2 separate regions of the Homo sapiens genome follow, and region 2 is linked to region 1. The links are contacts of gene promoters, found by promoter capture Hi-C in human tissues and cell types (Jung and others, 2019). All regions are on one chromosome and are shown on one strand. The core of a region is centred on a gene start or on the middle of the fragment in contact, and the rest is flanking DNA. Distances in the headings are between cores, read along the strand shown. Region 1 holds the start of IGFBP5 (insulin like growth factor binding protein 5). Region 2 has its middle 39 kb from the start of TESHL.

What was found. The method cuts DNA at HindIII sites, captures the fragments that hold promoters and counts their contacts. A contact is called where the count stands out against the background at its distance.
Region 2: a fragment that was not itself captured here is called in contact with the fragment with the promoter of IGFBP5 in region 1 in 3 of the 25 tissues and cell types used here (aorta, bladder and pancreas).

Annotation. Positions count from the first base shown.
Region 1 is chr2:216,690,691-216,698,201 of GRCh38, forward strand. It overlaps IGFBP5 (insulin like growth factor binding protein 5), which reads right to left and starts at 4,859. Exons shown (of 4, transcript NM_000599.4): 1 at 3,749-4,859. The coding sequence starts at 4,085. IGFBP-AS1 (IGFBP5 antisense RNA 1) reads left to right here and starts at 3,756. Exons shown (of 6, transcript NR_187138.1): 1 at 3,756-4,071. It overlaps LOC124900515 (a long non-coding RNA gene), which reads right to left and starts at 874. Exons shown (of 2, transcript XR_007088080.1): 1 at 766-874. The HindIII fragment of the contact is 12,405 bases long and covers 1-6,588 here.
Region 2 is chr2:216,906,283-216,913,504 of GRCh38, forward strand. No RefSeq gene overlaps it. Among named protein-coding and RNA genes, the nearest start is that of TESHL, 39 kb to the left of the region's middle. RefSeq lists a silencer at 3,204-3,498. The HindIII fragment of the contact is 4,829 bases long and covers 1,151-5,979 here.

The DNA.
Region 1 (7,511 bases), core at 3,609-6,108:
ACTCAAGCCCTCAGGGGATGCCTTAGAGTTGGGGTGGGGGGTCGGGGGGTGGATGGAGAAGGTCGGAGGGAAGAGTAGGAGGGAGGGGTGAGAAAGGGGAAAAAGAGAAATGGAAAGAATATGAGCTCTCACTAGGGCTAACTCTGCTTGTTCTTCCAGTCTGAGCTGACACAGCAGAAAGGTGGGGGAGGGGGGGCGGGGTGGGCGGGGGCGGGGGCGGTGGGCGGAGGTGGCGAGAAAAGTCCAGTTAAAGCCCCATCTCGTTTTCCCAACTCCCGTTTTGGTTGGCTCAGGGCACGCCATCCTCTCAAAGACTTGTTTCAGAGGGAGGGGGTGCGGGTGGGAAAGGAATTTGGCTCCTTCAGTTTTCCATGATCTTGCTCAACCCAGACATAAATTTGGCCAATAAACCTAACTCTGGAACTCGACTTCAACATGGCATTTTAGACCAGGCTTGGAGTTGAAGCCAGGGTGATGGAGGCCAAACCCCTCAAAGAAGCAAAGGCTGAATTCACTTTTATTTAGGTAATGCTTTTGCTTTCTTTTCCAGAAGCCTATTTTTTGTCCCACGGTGTCTCATTTCTTAATGACAGAACCGAAAGCCAGAACCCACGGCTCCCTACATCTTAAACTGAATGTCTCACCAGCACAGAGGAGACCTACCCGAACCCCGGTATCTATGCTGGGGACCAGCCCATCAAACCTCATTCCCCACCAAAAATGCCCGAAAGCAAACCCAGTACTTCCTTGACTCCCTCCACTCACCGCTATTTACTGAGCTTTGCCCATCAAATAACTCCCGTCTTTCATCTCCCTCCAGCCTCACACACATTCTTTTTTCCGTATCTATCTCTGCTCCTGAACTGGCCAGAATGAAATGCAGAGCCAGGCTCGCTCTCAGCACCCTGCTCTCGGGCCCACTCCCTCTCCAGTTGCTCAGCAACAGCCTAGCAAAACACCCTCTCCTCCGCCCTCTCCTTTCCCTCCCAGAGGCTTTGGCTGCCTGCCACCTCACTCTCTTCTGCTCCCCATTTCTGATTCCAGAAATGCACCTTTTTTGGGTTCTACATGTTTGGTTACATATAAATATATATAATATAGTATATACCATATATACAATATATAATTATATAGATATAATATGTCGTGTGTGTGTGTGTGTGTGTGTGTGTGTGTGTGTGTGTGTGTATGCTGCAACTGCGGGAGGGAGGGGGCAAATCCATATCTGCAAGCTCAGATTTTGGCGGGGGTGGGGGAGAGGAGGGAGGTAGGAGGTGTGTTGGGAAGCAGGAATTTTGGCTAAAGGACCAAAAGGGCACTCTCCCTCTCTCTGTCCATTTCTCTCTCCTTAAGAACGGTCTCTACACCATCTCCAACTTTTTGGGGACCCGCCCAGTGGTTGTCCGGCTAAAACGCCCTTTCCAGGAGCGCCCACTCCCATCCCATCTGTTCGGGAAGAAGATGTCGGCACCAGCAGCGGTGGAGCGCCGCCAACCCGCAACAGCAGCCGGCCGGGCACCTGCCTTCGGCGGGGTGGAGTCGGAGAGGAGTGCTGGGGAGGGGGCGGGTAGAAGAGGCGGCTTCGGGTTGGCCCAAAGGCACTCAGAAGGTGGGGGTTGAGCAAGGGGCGGCAGGGAATTCTACAGGGGATCTTGCTTGGGACTGAAGTGTCGTGTGTGTGTGTGTGTGTGTGTGTGTGTGTGTGTGTGTGTGATGCGCCCTCCGTGCTCGCCTAGCAATTGCGCGCGCGTGCGCTCTGCGTGTACACCCTTCACACTAGCCACATCACACTACACGCTTGGTAAATAATAAGTGGAGCCAGGATGCGGCTGAGTGACACCTTACGTTCTTTCGGTGTGACTGGATTGTTACCCAGGGCGGTGGCTCCCAAGCCGGGAAATCAATTAATGTTTTCCTTCTCCGCTAGGCTTTTCCAAATCCACATCCCCCAAGATGAAGGCGGGCAGGACCGCCTTTGAAAAGTGGATCTTAATAAAAATAATCTCACAAGCCGGTCTCTGGGGTTCCCAGAGCCTGCACATCCTCCCCTTTTCCTCTTTTTGCAGGCTGCAACCTGCAAAAAGATCGACTTTTTGCAGGTTTGGAGATCGACTACCTCTTGCAAAGCTAGAGGGGCTGGCCCCTGCGCCACTCAAACCCTGCAGGGTTTGCGGGGACTGAGGCTGAACACAGGAAGCTCTCCGGCCTCCTGGCAAGCGCGGACGCACTCCTCTCCTGCACTATAGTGACTGAAATTTGCACTTCAGAAAACTCATGTTAGGGTGCTCGTGAGTAACGGAAAGGGACAGGGAGGGAGAAGGGGATTGCCCCCGTAACTAAACTGTCTCCGTAACTAAACTACGCCAAATAAACATTGTTTAGCCAAGTTTTAACCCCTTTTGGAGAGAATCAATAGCCAGTTTGACGTCTTAGAACCCAGACTTTTATGTAGTTTATTTAACTTTTTTTTTTTTTAACTAAAGATCAGGTAACTCTTTCCAAAAAGAAACTCAGTCTAAGGGGGTAGAACTGTTCTGATTGAACAAGTAGCTGTGTCAATCATTTCAACCCTAGACTCCTGGCGCCGAGAATTTGGGGGCGGCGCAACCCGGGGGCGGGGCAAGCGGAGGCGAGGCTCCCAGTGCGTGGCTTTTCTGTCTCCGCCCCCTGAATTTTGCATTCTGCGTTTCCAGGGCCCCTCATGCACTTAATCCACACCCACTTGTGATCTGGTTTAAGAGATTGGGGAGGGCGGGGTGGGGGGATTGCGGAGGGAGGAATTGCGGGGCGGGGGTGGAGGTGGTGGTGGTGCCAGGAATCTGCATAGGCGAGGAAGTTGAAAGCTCTGAATCTCACATCCCCTTTTGCCTCCCAGCCCTATGTCCACCTTTCATCCTAGGTAAAATCTGAATTGGAGAGGGGGAAAAGGAATTAGATTCAGAAACGAACACCAGGCACAGAATACCAAACCCTTCCTTTCTACTCTTCCCCACCCCCACCCCGCACCCCCGCACTCCTAAAGTATTTTTTTCCCTTCCTGGGATAAAATAAAAGTCATTTTGCAGTTAAATATGTTTTACCATCTACCACAGGCAATCATCTTCAATAAAAAGCAATGGTTATGCACATGGGAGGGGCTTCAGGGCTCCCACCCGAAAGGCATTAGCTACCAAGGATGTGGGGTGTTTGTGGTGTGTGTGTAGGGGTGGAGGGATAGAAACGTCTGGAGGCACGGGGGTGGAGGGGCCAAGAGGGACAAAGGTGGAATTAGCTCAGAAGATAGGTAATGCCTCTCTCTCCAGGCCGCAATTAAAATAATATTTTAACAAAAGAGATTTTTTTTCCAAGTTCAGAAAAAAACCTATGCGGGGCGCGAGGGGGGTGGAGGAGGGAGTTGATAATGTAACATACACTCTTTCAGACTGTAGATAGGGTACCAGGGGATTTGGACCTTGTGACCGAATAAGAGCTCAGAATCAGTATTCGGACAGAGTAGGGGGAGGGGGCGGGCAACGTGTGGGTAGGAGGAAGGAGAAAGAGCGAAAGCTGGGATAGACTCGGCTAGACAGTTCCCCCGGGTAGCAGGATCCTCCAGGGCTCCAATTCCGGGGTGCAAGGACCCTCCCCGACTACTCCCGAGCTGCACCCCAGCTCGAAGCCACTTGCTGCGCAAAGCGCGCGGGCCCAGCCGGTCTCGTGTCCCCCGCCCGTGCGCCGCGTAACTGACTGGCACACTGAGCGCGCTCACCGATCTTGACTTGCTCGCGGTAGCTCTTTTCGTTGAGGCAAACCCCGCGGCCGTGCAGCAGGGCGTGCAGCGGCTTCTCCTCGTCCTGCCGGGGGAGGCAGCGCAGCCCCTGGGCGCAGCGCTCGGTGTAGACGCCGCACGACTGCCCCTCGGCCAGGGCGCAGGTCATGCAGCAGCCGCAGCCCGGCTCCTTGACCAGCTCGCAGCCCAGGGGGCTGGGGGGGCACATGGAGAGGGCTTTCTCGTCGCAGGGCTCGCAGTGCACGAAGGAGCCCAGGCTCTGGGCCGGCCCCGCATAGGCGGCCAGCAGCAGGAGGACCGCGGTGAGCAACACCATCTTCTCTTAGTCGCCCCCTTTACCTCGGGGTGGGGCAGGAGAGCGAGAGTGCAGGGATAAAGGGGCCAAGAGGGCCCCCGGAGATTTTTTTGTTTTTGTTTTTGTTTTAAAATTTCTGGCAGGTAGAGCAGGTGCCCTCCCCCAGACACTTGCAAAAATGTAGAGAGAGGTGGAGGGCTGGGGTGCCTGCGAGCAGGTCCCAGTTGCAAGAATTAAAGCCTTGCAACAGGTTGGGGGAAGCAGGGCAGCGCCAGGTGCACGCAGTGAGCGGAGGCCGGAGAAACCCTCAAGCCTGAGCGGGTCAGAATTATAGGGGAAAAAAAGCCACAAAATTGTTCACCCCCAAGCAACCACCGAAATAATGAGATCGGATGCAGTGGAGATGGCGTTGGGGGTGGGAGAGAAAAATGGATTTATCTTTAAAATTTTTGCTTAAAATCTAAAATACACCCCGCTTTCTAACCCTCAGCTGCCAGCGGTGCGCGGCGCCGCAGAACAGGTAAGAGGCGTTGGCTGCAGCCGAGAGGGTGGGAGAAAATGTTGAAATCAAGAAATTAAAAAACAAAAACAAAAACAAAAAAACCCCAAACCCTAACACCTCTTTTCTCCCACTTTGCCACCTCCTCTTCGAAATTCGCAGGTTCTACGCGAAGTCCGGAGAAGGGTGAAAACGGAGGAGGGGTAATGAAAAGGAGCAAAAAAGGGAAAAAGCCCACACTGCTTTGCAGCTCTTTCCTAGCTCTTTTCCCCTGCAGAAGTTTCCAAAGAGACTACGGGGCTCCGGGAGAGCAGGCGCTTTTAAATAGCCGGCCCCTGGCTGCCAGCCAGTTTGTAGCTGCAATTTGAGCTTCCCAACACCCAACTCAGGCAAGGATGCCAAGGAGCTTTGCAGTACAAACTCACACGGGGTGGGGGTGGGGAGAGGCCTTCTAGACACAAGGGGGCTCCCCTTCGCTCCCTGAACAGCGCCCTCCTCCCCTCTGAACAGCGCCCTCCTCCCCCCGGAATGTAAGAAAGGGGCAAGGGGGACAGGCTGGGGCTACCGAGAATGGGGAGGAGGTGGAGGGGCCAGTGGAAGACAGAGTTCTTCGGAGCAGGGTGAACACAATGAGGAGAGTAACTTCGTCTCCCCTTCCCTCCTATCCTTTAAGTAGTCAAGGCACAGGCTGAAGGGAGACGTATTTTCTTATTAGCCAACTGGATATACCGTGCCCAAGAAATCTTCCTAAGCTTCTGCAATTGACTGTATGCTGGTGTCTGTTTCCATGTGGGGTGTGTGTGTGTGTGTGTTTGGGGGACAGGTAGTGTAGAATGGCCAGTGATGTCTGGTGAGCTAAATTTAAAAAAGAAGAAAAAATTGAATTTCTCCCCTAAAAGTCTGGAGAAGAGGATTTAATCAGGGGGTTTCAGTACTCATGATGAAGAGGTGACCAGTTGCCTTCAGCTGCGTTGGCCAGGGAGGTTCTCTCTCTCTTTCTCTCTCTCTGTGTGTGTGTGTGTATGTGTGTGTGTTGTGTATCTGCAGGAATGGACATTCATACAACAGCATTATTGAGAGCAGTGAGTTGCAGAGATGGACACTTTGGAGGAAATGCTAAGTCTGAAAACCTTGCATGGTGGCCTAAAGTGTCCTTGTGTGTGGGGTTCTTAGAGGGAAGAAAGGTGGATTGGAGTGACACTTCCCTCTCTGTCACTTTGCAGAGGTATTTCTATTGGGCAGGGCCACATCCCTGGAGGGAGTGGGTGGCAGAGTAGCTGGAGGAGACCTTGTGATAGGTTGACAGGTTAGTTGGTGCTTATAGGCACATCCCAGGAATATGAGCTGACAGGGCCACAGGACCTGCTTGGAAGAGGTCCTGACCAGGAACCGAATCATGCCACTAGAACCTCTTTAATAAAATGAAAGAAAACTAAGGCCTTGAAATAGGAAGGTGGTGGTTTTAGCTTTTTCTGAAATTGACCTGAGTGAGCCATGAGCCTCACAGGCAAGTCAGAGAGAAATGACCAATGTCACTGCCCCTGCTGGGTGGACTTGGTGTGGGCTGTTACACCTTTTACATTGTGCTTCCTCCCTTGAGAAGTATTCTAACTTTCCTTTGGAGAAGGGGCTGCATTTCATGAAGTTTGCCACTAGACTGCACCCTTATCTATGATAAGAATTCTTTCTGGAGGACTGCTTTCAAGAAAATATTTTTTCTTGCTCGTTCAGTTCAGGAGCATCTCACTTTATGCCGTTAACACCCCCAGATCCTGATCTCTCTTCTCACTTATCTATTTGCCGAAAGGCACATTTTAAAACAAGGTTAACGTCTAAAGTTATGTCTTTGCCTGTATTGCCAAAGGGGGTTTAGCCACGTGGTGGCTGGGAGAGGGAGGAGCATTGTGTGTAATGATTAAAACAAAAAATAGCAGCAAGGCTCATCTTAATTTCTTCTTTTCTCAGTCTGAGGGCTTGGTAAGGTAGGAACAAATCAATATTCAAAACTTTGGTGGAAATATTTTAGAAGTGAGGGAAATCATGTGTTATTTTGTCATTTGTGTCAAGTTCAGACTACAAGAGTGGCAGCAGAATGTGTGCAGTATGTTCTCTTCCCTGCTCCTATTTCTTTCTGCACACCCTTAGCAGCTCAGCCTGCCTCAGGCACACTGGTAGCTTTTAAGATGATTGGGGGAAATTGTGGTACTCCTTCCAAAGAAACATGAGTTGCCTCGTTCCAGTCACCCTGTATTCTGAGAGAGATGGCCTCTAGTGACACCTCTTTTTGTGTAGCCGACTTCCAATGGCTGGATAATACAATATGTGAAGACAGGTAAAAGGAGGGGGGATCATTCACAGAAAAGATAAAAAGGGTAGAGAGAAGGGGGGAGGAGAATGTGGTGGGAGCCGGACCCTGGGGCAGAGCAGTACAGGGGCCATGGAGAGAGGTTACTCTGCAAGACTGTAAATGTTAAGCAGCTATTCTTTTTTTTTTTTTTTAATACTTTAAGTTCTAGGGTACATGTGCACAATGTGCAGGTTTGTTACATATGTATACATGTGCTGTGTTGGTGTGCTAAGCAGCCATTCTTTATCTCCACTTAGAAATGGGCTTAGGTTATAAGGGATTCAGACACTGGAGCTGTTGTCCAAGAGACCCTGGGATAGGCTTCCCGAGAGGGCATGAGAGAAAGAAGAATTCTCAGTAGCCTGGGATTGTCTATAGTAATTTCATCCAAAGATGGAGGACTGGCCAGATGGGTGTTGTTTCTGAGTCCATAATTAACATATGACAATGGAGTGGGAAGGTGTTGGTGTTGTTACTGCAGGATACGGGATTATGGAGGATGCCTATGAGCCTTACTTGATTCCATTTTCCCCTTCCCTCCATTCTGGAGGTCTAGATCTGTTCACAATCACCTTTAGAAAATTGCTTGTAGAAAAAAAAA
Region 2 (7,222 bases), core at 2,315-4,814, 210 kb after region 1:
TAATTGGAAAAAAAAAACTTTGGACTTAAATACATCGAGGCCAAATTCCTAGCTCTACTACTAGCTGTGTCACCACTGATGAATTATTTAAGATGGCTGAACAGTTTTCTCATCTGTAAACAGAAAAACATAACTCTTGCCTTGCATGGGTGGGATGGGGATTGTGAGGAATACAGCTAAGTACATATAAGCTTGCTGTTGGTATGTTCAATGCAGTAAGTTCTCAATAGCTGAAAGCTATTACTCTAATGATCATTAAGATCACCATAGGTATTGAAGTAGATAATAAATAAGACCAGTGGTGTTTCTGAAGGTGCCCTTAATTGAAAAGTTTCCACTTCGTCAACCTTCTTTCCAAATAGAAGGAACCTAAGTGTCCAACAGCTGATGAATGGATCAAGAAAACGTGGTATATAGAGACAGTGGAATACTATTCAGCCATAAAAAAGAATAAAAACATGTCTTTTGCAGCAACGTGGATGGAACTGGAGGCCACTATCTTAACAACACAGAAACAGGAAGTCAAATACTGCATGTTCCCACTTATAAGTGGAAGCTAAATAATGTGTACACGTGGACATAGAGTACAGAATGACAGACATTGGAAACTCAAAAGGGTGGGAAGGTGGGGGGCTTAGGGATGTGAAATTACTTCATGGGTACAACGCACATTATTCAGGCACTGAGTACACTAAAACCTCAGGCTTCACCACTATGCAATATATCCATGTAACAGAATGGCCCTTGGACCCCTTGAATTTATACAAATTTTTAAAATGCAAAGAACAAAGCAAAAAAAAAAAAAAAGGAAGAAATAGCATTCTTTACCCTCCTTAGAAGTGGAACAACCTCGTGCAAAGAAAACTCTCCTCAGAAGGAATCTTGATTAACTTCTATCAACTTGTTTCTAGTTTTCAGCAGGCCTCATGGGGGTAGATTGGGCTTTCTGATGTCCAATTTGAATTCTCTTGTGTTCTTTTATTTTGTTTTGAGAAAGAGTCTCCCTCTGTCACCCAGGCAGGAGCACAGTGGCGTGATCGTAGATTGCCATAGCCTCTAACTCCTGGGCCCAAGCTACTCTCCCGCCTCAGCCTCCTGAGTACCCGGGACTACAGGTGCATGCCACTACATCCAACTAGTTAATTTTTTTTTTTTTTTTTTTTTTTTTTTTTTTTTTTTTGTAGAGACGGGGTCTTACTGTGTTGCCCAGGCTGGTCTCAAATTCCTGGCCTCAAGCTATCCTCTCACCTTGGCCTCACAAAGTATTGGGATTATAGGCATGAGCCACTGCACATGTCCTCTTGTTTTCTAATAGAAAGTTGTTTTTTTTTAATCACTTTTCAGATTCCAAACTGACATAGATTTGGAGTTTTAGCCATTGCAATTATAAATTGCAAAGCAATTTATAGCACACAAGCTGCTTTCTATAAACATCACTTCATGTAATCCTCACCACAGTGCTGTGAAGTAGGCATTATTTTCTTAGCTTTATAAGTGAAGGAATGAAAGCTCACAGAATGTAAATAGCTCATCCAAAGTTCCAAAGCTAAGGAGGTGTAGAAAGGAGAATCAGTTTCAGGTCTGTATCTCCAGTGTGCTGTCTTTCAAACCAGAGAGCTAGTTAAAACAATTACCAGCCCTTAGACCAGCTGCCTGGTCACCATGTCACCCAGACATCTCCCTTTGCACTGTGGGCATATGTGAACCCCCACATGAAGGCTTTGTCATTCCCTAATTATCCAGGTTTGTTACTGATCAGTCATACTCCTGATTTGTCCTAATTGTGTGTGTGTGTATGTGTGTTTGTTTCCCTTAAGAGGAAGGCAAGTTTCCTTAAAAAACAACAACAACAAAAAAAACACATACGGAGTAAGAAAATTTACCAGTTTACTATTAACAAACTTAAAAATTCAAAAAAAAGGGGGATTCTGAGGGAACATGAAAATTTATATGGGACTAGATAATGAATAAATATATTCACTAAAAATATGGCACCCTTACTTAGTGCTCTGCCTTTTTAAAAGACATGATACACATCTTCTTGGTACGGTATATCCACTATTATCCATTCAATTTCCATTTATTTCCCCGTTTGCTAGAACTTTTCAAGCTTTCACTCCCCTGCTGTTTTAATGACAGGCTAGATGGTCATTTTGCTTTGCTTCCTATAATGAGCGAGTTAAAAGGCATGTTTTCTGCATCTGCTCGCCACACAATGGCCAATGTGATTTTACAACTGGGATGCTAAGGCAGTCTGTGGAAACACAGTGGGCCCTGGTCAGTTGGAATGTTTGAATGCTTCGGTTAACTTTTATTGAACTTGCTTGGAGAACTGCATGGGCCTTTCTCAAGCCTCCTCAACACATGTGATTTCAAAGGCTTAGCCCTCTGGAAGTCTTAGCCAGTACCCCCGCACCCATCAATTCCCTTCCTCCTGTAATAGTGATTACTGGTGCTCTTCTCTCTTTCATGACTTCTTTGCAAAACTTTCAACTTTTTCTTAACGATTTTACCTCTTTTACCTATTTCTTGCAAAGACTTACCACCTTTTCTGATTATTCTCAACAGAAGAGCTCACTGGAACACAAGACATCTTGGATGAGGAATATGTAAAACACAGATAGACCCATGTTCTCTAAATTCAAATGCTTCATTAAGGGGAACTGGAGGGTCAGAAACAATTAGTATGTCTTGGCTAGTTATAAAGAAAATTCAGCATTTGATAAAATGCTATAGTTTCCTTAAAATTTAAGTTTTTAAACGGACTTCTAAACTTTCTTTAGCTATTAAAGATTGTTATTGGAATAGCCCACTTTACAAAATTTAGTACAGTTACTTGCAAAAATGTGATATTTTGAGATCTGTAAAAATTCAAAACCAAAGAATTATGATACTTTGAATAGAGAGTAAATGAATAAATCCATAGTTGATCCCATTATGATGTTTATATTCTTATTGGTAAGGAGTAAGTACAAAGCAAAATGCTGGGCTGGATGACTCAGGCTCTGCTAGCTGAACCACACGGGATGGGTCCTTGGAACCTACATAAGTGTGGGTGCTCATCTGCAGAATGAGAGCGTCAGATACCATGATCCCTCTGGATCTGTAACTTGAAGATCTGGGATTTTCAGGAAAAGTTGAACAAAGCTTAGCAGTTGGTTCCAAATTATCTGGCCCTTCCTGCTTTTGTTGCTCACCACATCTGAAAGGTGGCATCCTTAACACTGAGGTCCAAGCCAGCTAAAGGCAGGAGGTCAACTTTGTATGCACAGTCCGTTTCCCCTTCACCTGTTGTTTGGTTGTTTTTGTGCCACGGGTCTTGTGCTCCTTCCTCTGTCCGGCCTCGGAGCTGGGCCTCCCTCACATCAGCACCATTTTGGCTGTAAGCTGCTGGAGCAGCTGCTGCCCGGGAGGGCTCTGCTCATGTCCTGAGCTGACACATGACAACTTCTATTAGGCTGAGGTGCTCCGAGGGAAGCCAGTGGGCTCTACCAGCCATCTCCCTTCTGTTTCCCCATCTGCTGGCTCCCAGGGAGGTGGTGGCAGAACTTAGGTAAAAGAGCACATCCAAAGTGAGGACATGGTGAAGACCTGGAGGGATTGCACTCTCCCTCTTTGTCAGATGTTGCCTGGCAGGGGTGGAACCTGTCCCTTAGGAGAGAATGGGGTGACTCAGACTAGCCTGGCTCATGCTGAGGACGTCCAGTCTGCCTCCCACCATCCCTGCTGGGAGTCCCCACTTGGAAATCATATTTGCAGCTTGGGTTAAACATGACCAGGTGCTCCACAGAGGCAGTGCCAGAGGATTCTTGGCATGGCCTCTGCACTTGTTTGAATGTTGTGGCTTTTAATATTTATCCCAGTTCTTATGTGTGTTTGTGAATGCCCGTGCACATGTGTTGCAGTTCCTTCCCAGGGTCCCCCAGCATAGGGATGTTCCCATCCATCAAACAGGAAGAGCAACAACAGGTTGTAGCGGGGAGCTGGGGCAGACTGCGTGAGGGCAGGGCCTGGGGAGCCTGAGGGGCCAAGCCATGTGTTCTGCTGTTAGTTCATTGGGCTGACAAAGTGGGAGGCTGCTGTGCTGGGACCCCCTCTCTCAGCCAGGGGTCCTATAGATTCCCAGACGCTACAGCTTGAAGGGAGGGGCCTGAGAGGTGATGTGGTTCAATGCTTTTATTTTCTGAAGATGAAAATGAGGCCCAGAGAGGGGCAATGGCTTGTGAAAGACACATCTAATTGTAACAGGAGCTGAACCACCAAAATCTAGGCTGTGAGTGTGCAGGCCCTTAGCTGTCTCCATTGGTGCTCTGGGGTCCAGGAAGAATCTATTGACGAATAAGCCAGCTCAGGCCTCTACATCCTAAGTCAATGCTTATACAATGCTTCCTTCTCCACCAAGAAGGACTCTAAGATTTCTTATGGTTTTGGGACTGTACGTCCCCGTTTCTTTTGATTTGCCCTACTCTAACCCTCTGAAAAGCATGCCAGTTTGGATAATAAATCATATGGTCTCATTATTTAGGATTGTCTCATTTTCTAGAATGCTGCTTCTTTGAACATATATATTCCTGGGCCAAAGAGTTCCTGTGACTGCCAGCTCAAAGCTTCACAGAAGTTCTGATGAGTTCCTGGATGCAGGTGGTGGGAGCTCTAGTGAACACATGTGAACTCAGTTACTCATGACTGGATTTATCCTAACAAAGGAATTCAAAAGCAACTGTCTAGAATTCATTTGCCTCATCTGTAAAATGGCAGAGCTGTAGTGGGTGATTCTAAGGCCCCTGACAACTCAAAAATCTGCATCCACAAATTAATTTCAGGGATCATTCTGCCCCTTGCTATGTTGGTGGTGGTTATCTAGCTTCTGCAGTGAGGTGATTGGGCCCATCTGGATAGTGCCTTAGAGGTTGTGTGTACCAGACGCCTAACATGAGAGATAGTAGCTTTACAGCCAAGATGACAGATGCCTGTCCCTGCCCTTCCTTCTGGTTCCCAAATCACAATCTCTAAGCACCGGGTCTGAGGAGAGCCCAAGGACACATGGGGAGGCCGGACTCCCATTTCCTAGTCCTTACCCTTTGTCCTTCATGTTACCCTGCCTAGTGTGTAAAACCTGGGGCTCCCAGAAGGTAGGGCATGGGCTGTGGGGGAGGATTGCTGACTTCTCAGTATAAGGCTGTTCTCTAGCAGTGCTACCCAAAAAGAGGGGTGACAAAGAGGCCCCCATCTCCTAGGCCCTCAGACCAATTAGATGCCTGATCTTGGGAAAACACAATCTCCCTAGGGAGAGCTTGTTCTTAAAAACATGATGTGTAAATCATGGTTTTGTCTTTCCAAACAGACAAAAGCTACCTCCAGCTACATTTATTGAGAGCTGTGAAATATCATGGGGCCTCATGGAGTGGCAGTTAAGTCAGGTTGCCCAGGTCCAAATCCTAGCTCAACCATTCTAGCCGTGGACCTTTGGTAACGTTCTTTCTTAATCTCCCTCATGCTCATTTGCAAACATCCTTATAGGGCTATTTTGAGGATTAAATGCGATGATTCTTATCACAGGCAGAATACGGTGCCCACAGTGGTGAGTGCTTTGTGATCGTAGTGAATACATTGGACTTTTGGTACTTACAGTCCTTTGATCACTGAAAGGGGCCATGGCTTCAGGAATGATGCATAAACCCATTCTGTGCACTTCAGCAGGCAGGCAGGGTTTGGGCATTGGGTCAATGCAGAAGGAGGAGGAAGAATTCTGCAGTCACTCTGGGGCTGCTGCTCTCATCAGTGAGTCACTAATGGGCATCAGGAGATCCCCTTAGAAGGAGGTGCATGTGCCTGAGCCTCAGGCAAAATTGGCCCTGGTCATGGTTCTCAGGCTCTCTTCTCAATGCCAAGGGGGAGACATCTGGGGAGGTTGTGAAGGACTATCAAGTTCTTATGATTCTGATGTGTTTATGGCAGTGAGTAAAATTCATAGGTCATTTATGAGCTTTGCCTCCCATTTCACACAGCTGGTCCTTTTTAGTCAGGCTGTACATGCTCCAGAAAGAACTCAGCATCAGCACCTGGAGGGGCACCTTCTCCTCCCAGTCCTGGGAGGCTCTGAGAGGGGAGGCCAGGAGAGAAGTGGAGGGTGAGGCTGATAGCCTACCTGTGCAGCACTCGGGCCTACCTCCAATGGCCTGAACCACATTCTTCTCCAGCACATGGTCCTGGGTGAGGAGGGCTAGGGCTAGAATTCATCCACTCTCTGGATGGGGTCCTGAGTCCCAGCACTCTTTGGGACCTAGAGGTTCACCTGTGATATTTTCCTGATGATATCCACAGTTTTAATATAGTCTGGCTCCCTGAAGAGAACCAGTGGTACACACAAGACATTGGGAAGGTAACTGTCCATGGGCTAGGATAAAGAAAGTCAATTCTGGTGGCTCTTGTTCATTGAAGTCTAATAGGATTTAATCCTAGGTTAAAGAAAGGATTTGCTTTACTCAAAACTACTCTAAGGTACTGTGAAACAAAGTTTAAGAATCGTTCACAGCTTAACGTGAAACAGATATGGGCCTGATCTTGACAAACTGGCTGTGGACACAAAGCTCAAGTCTCTTCCTCCTGACCACAAAGATAATGACCTTCACAAATATCTTGTGGGAAGAGACAATGAGATTCCCAGTCAAGTGCTAAGTCTTGGTAAGTTCAATTTCAGATAACCTCTTCTTCTTCCTTTCTTTCCTTAATTCATGTAGTTTTCTCTGTCTCTTCAGTGTTTTTCTGACTTGATGGTGCCTGGTCAAGAAAGGGCCATAGAACAAGTCAATACCAGAATAAGCCATGTGGAAAAGGGCAGCTGAACACAATCTGCTCCTGTCTGAATTAGTGCCTACACTGGTGATCTGGCTTATTGGTGGGAAGTCATCTGTCATCCAGACACCCAGGGGGCCAGGTGCTCCATGTTTAAATTATGTAAAGATTATTAGAGAGATAAACCTGCAAAAGTGTCTCTGGCACCAATGAGAACAGGCACGGATAAGAAGGGGCAAGGTGGCCAGGTGCGGTGGCTCACGCCTGTAATCCCAGCACTTTGGGAGGCGGAGGTGGGCGGATCATGAGGTCAGGAGTTCGAGACAATCCTGGCCAACATGGTGAAACCCCGTCTCTACTAAAAATACAAAATTAGCCGGGTATGGTGGCACACACCTGCAGTTCCAGCTACTCAGGAGGCTCAGGC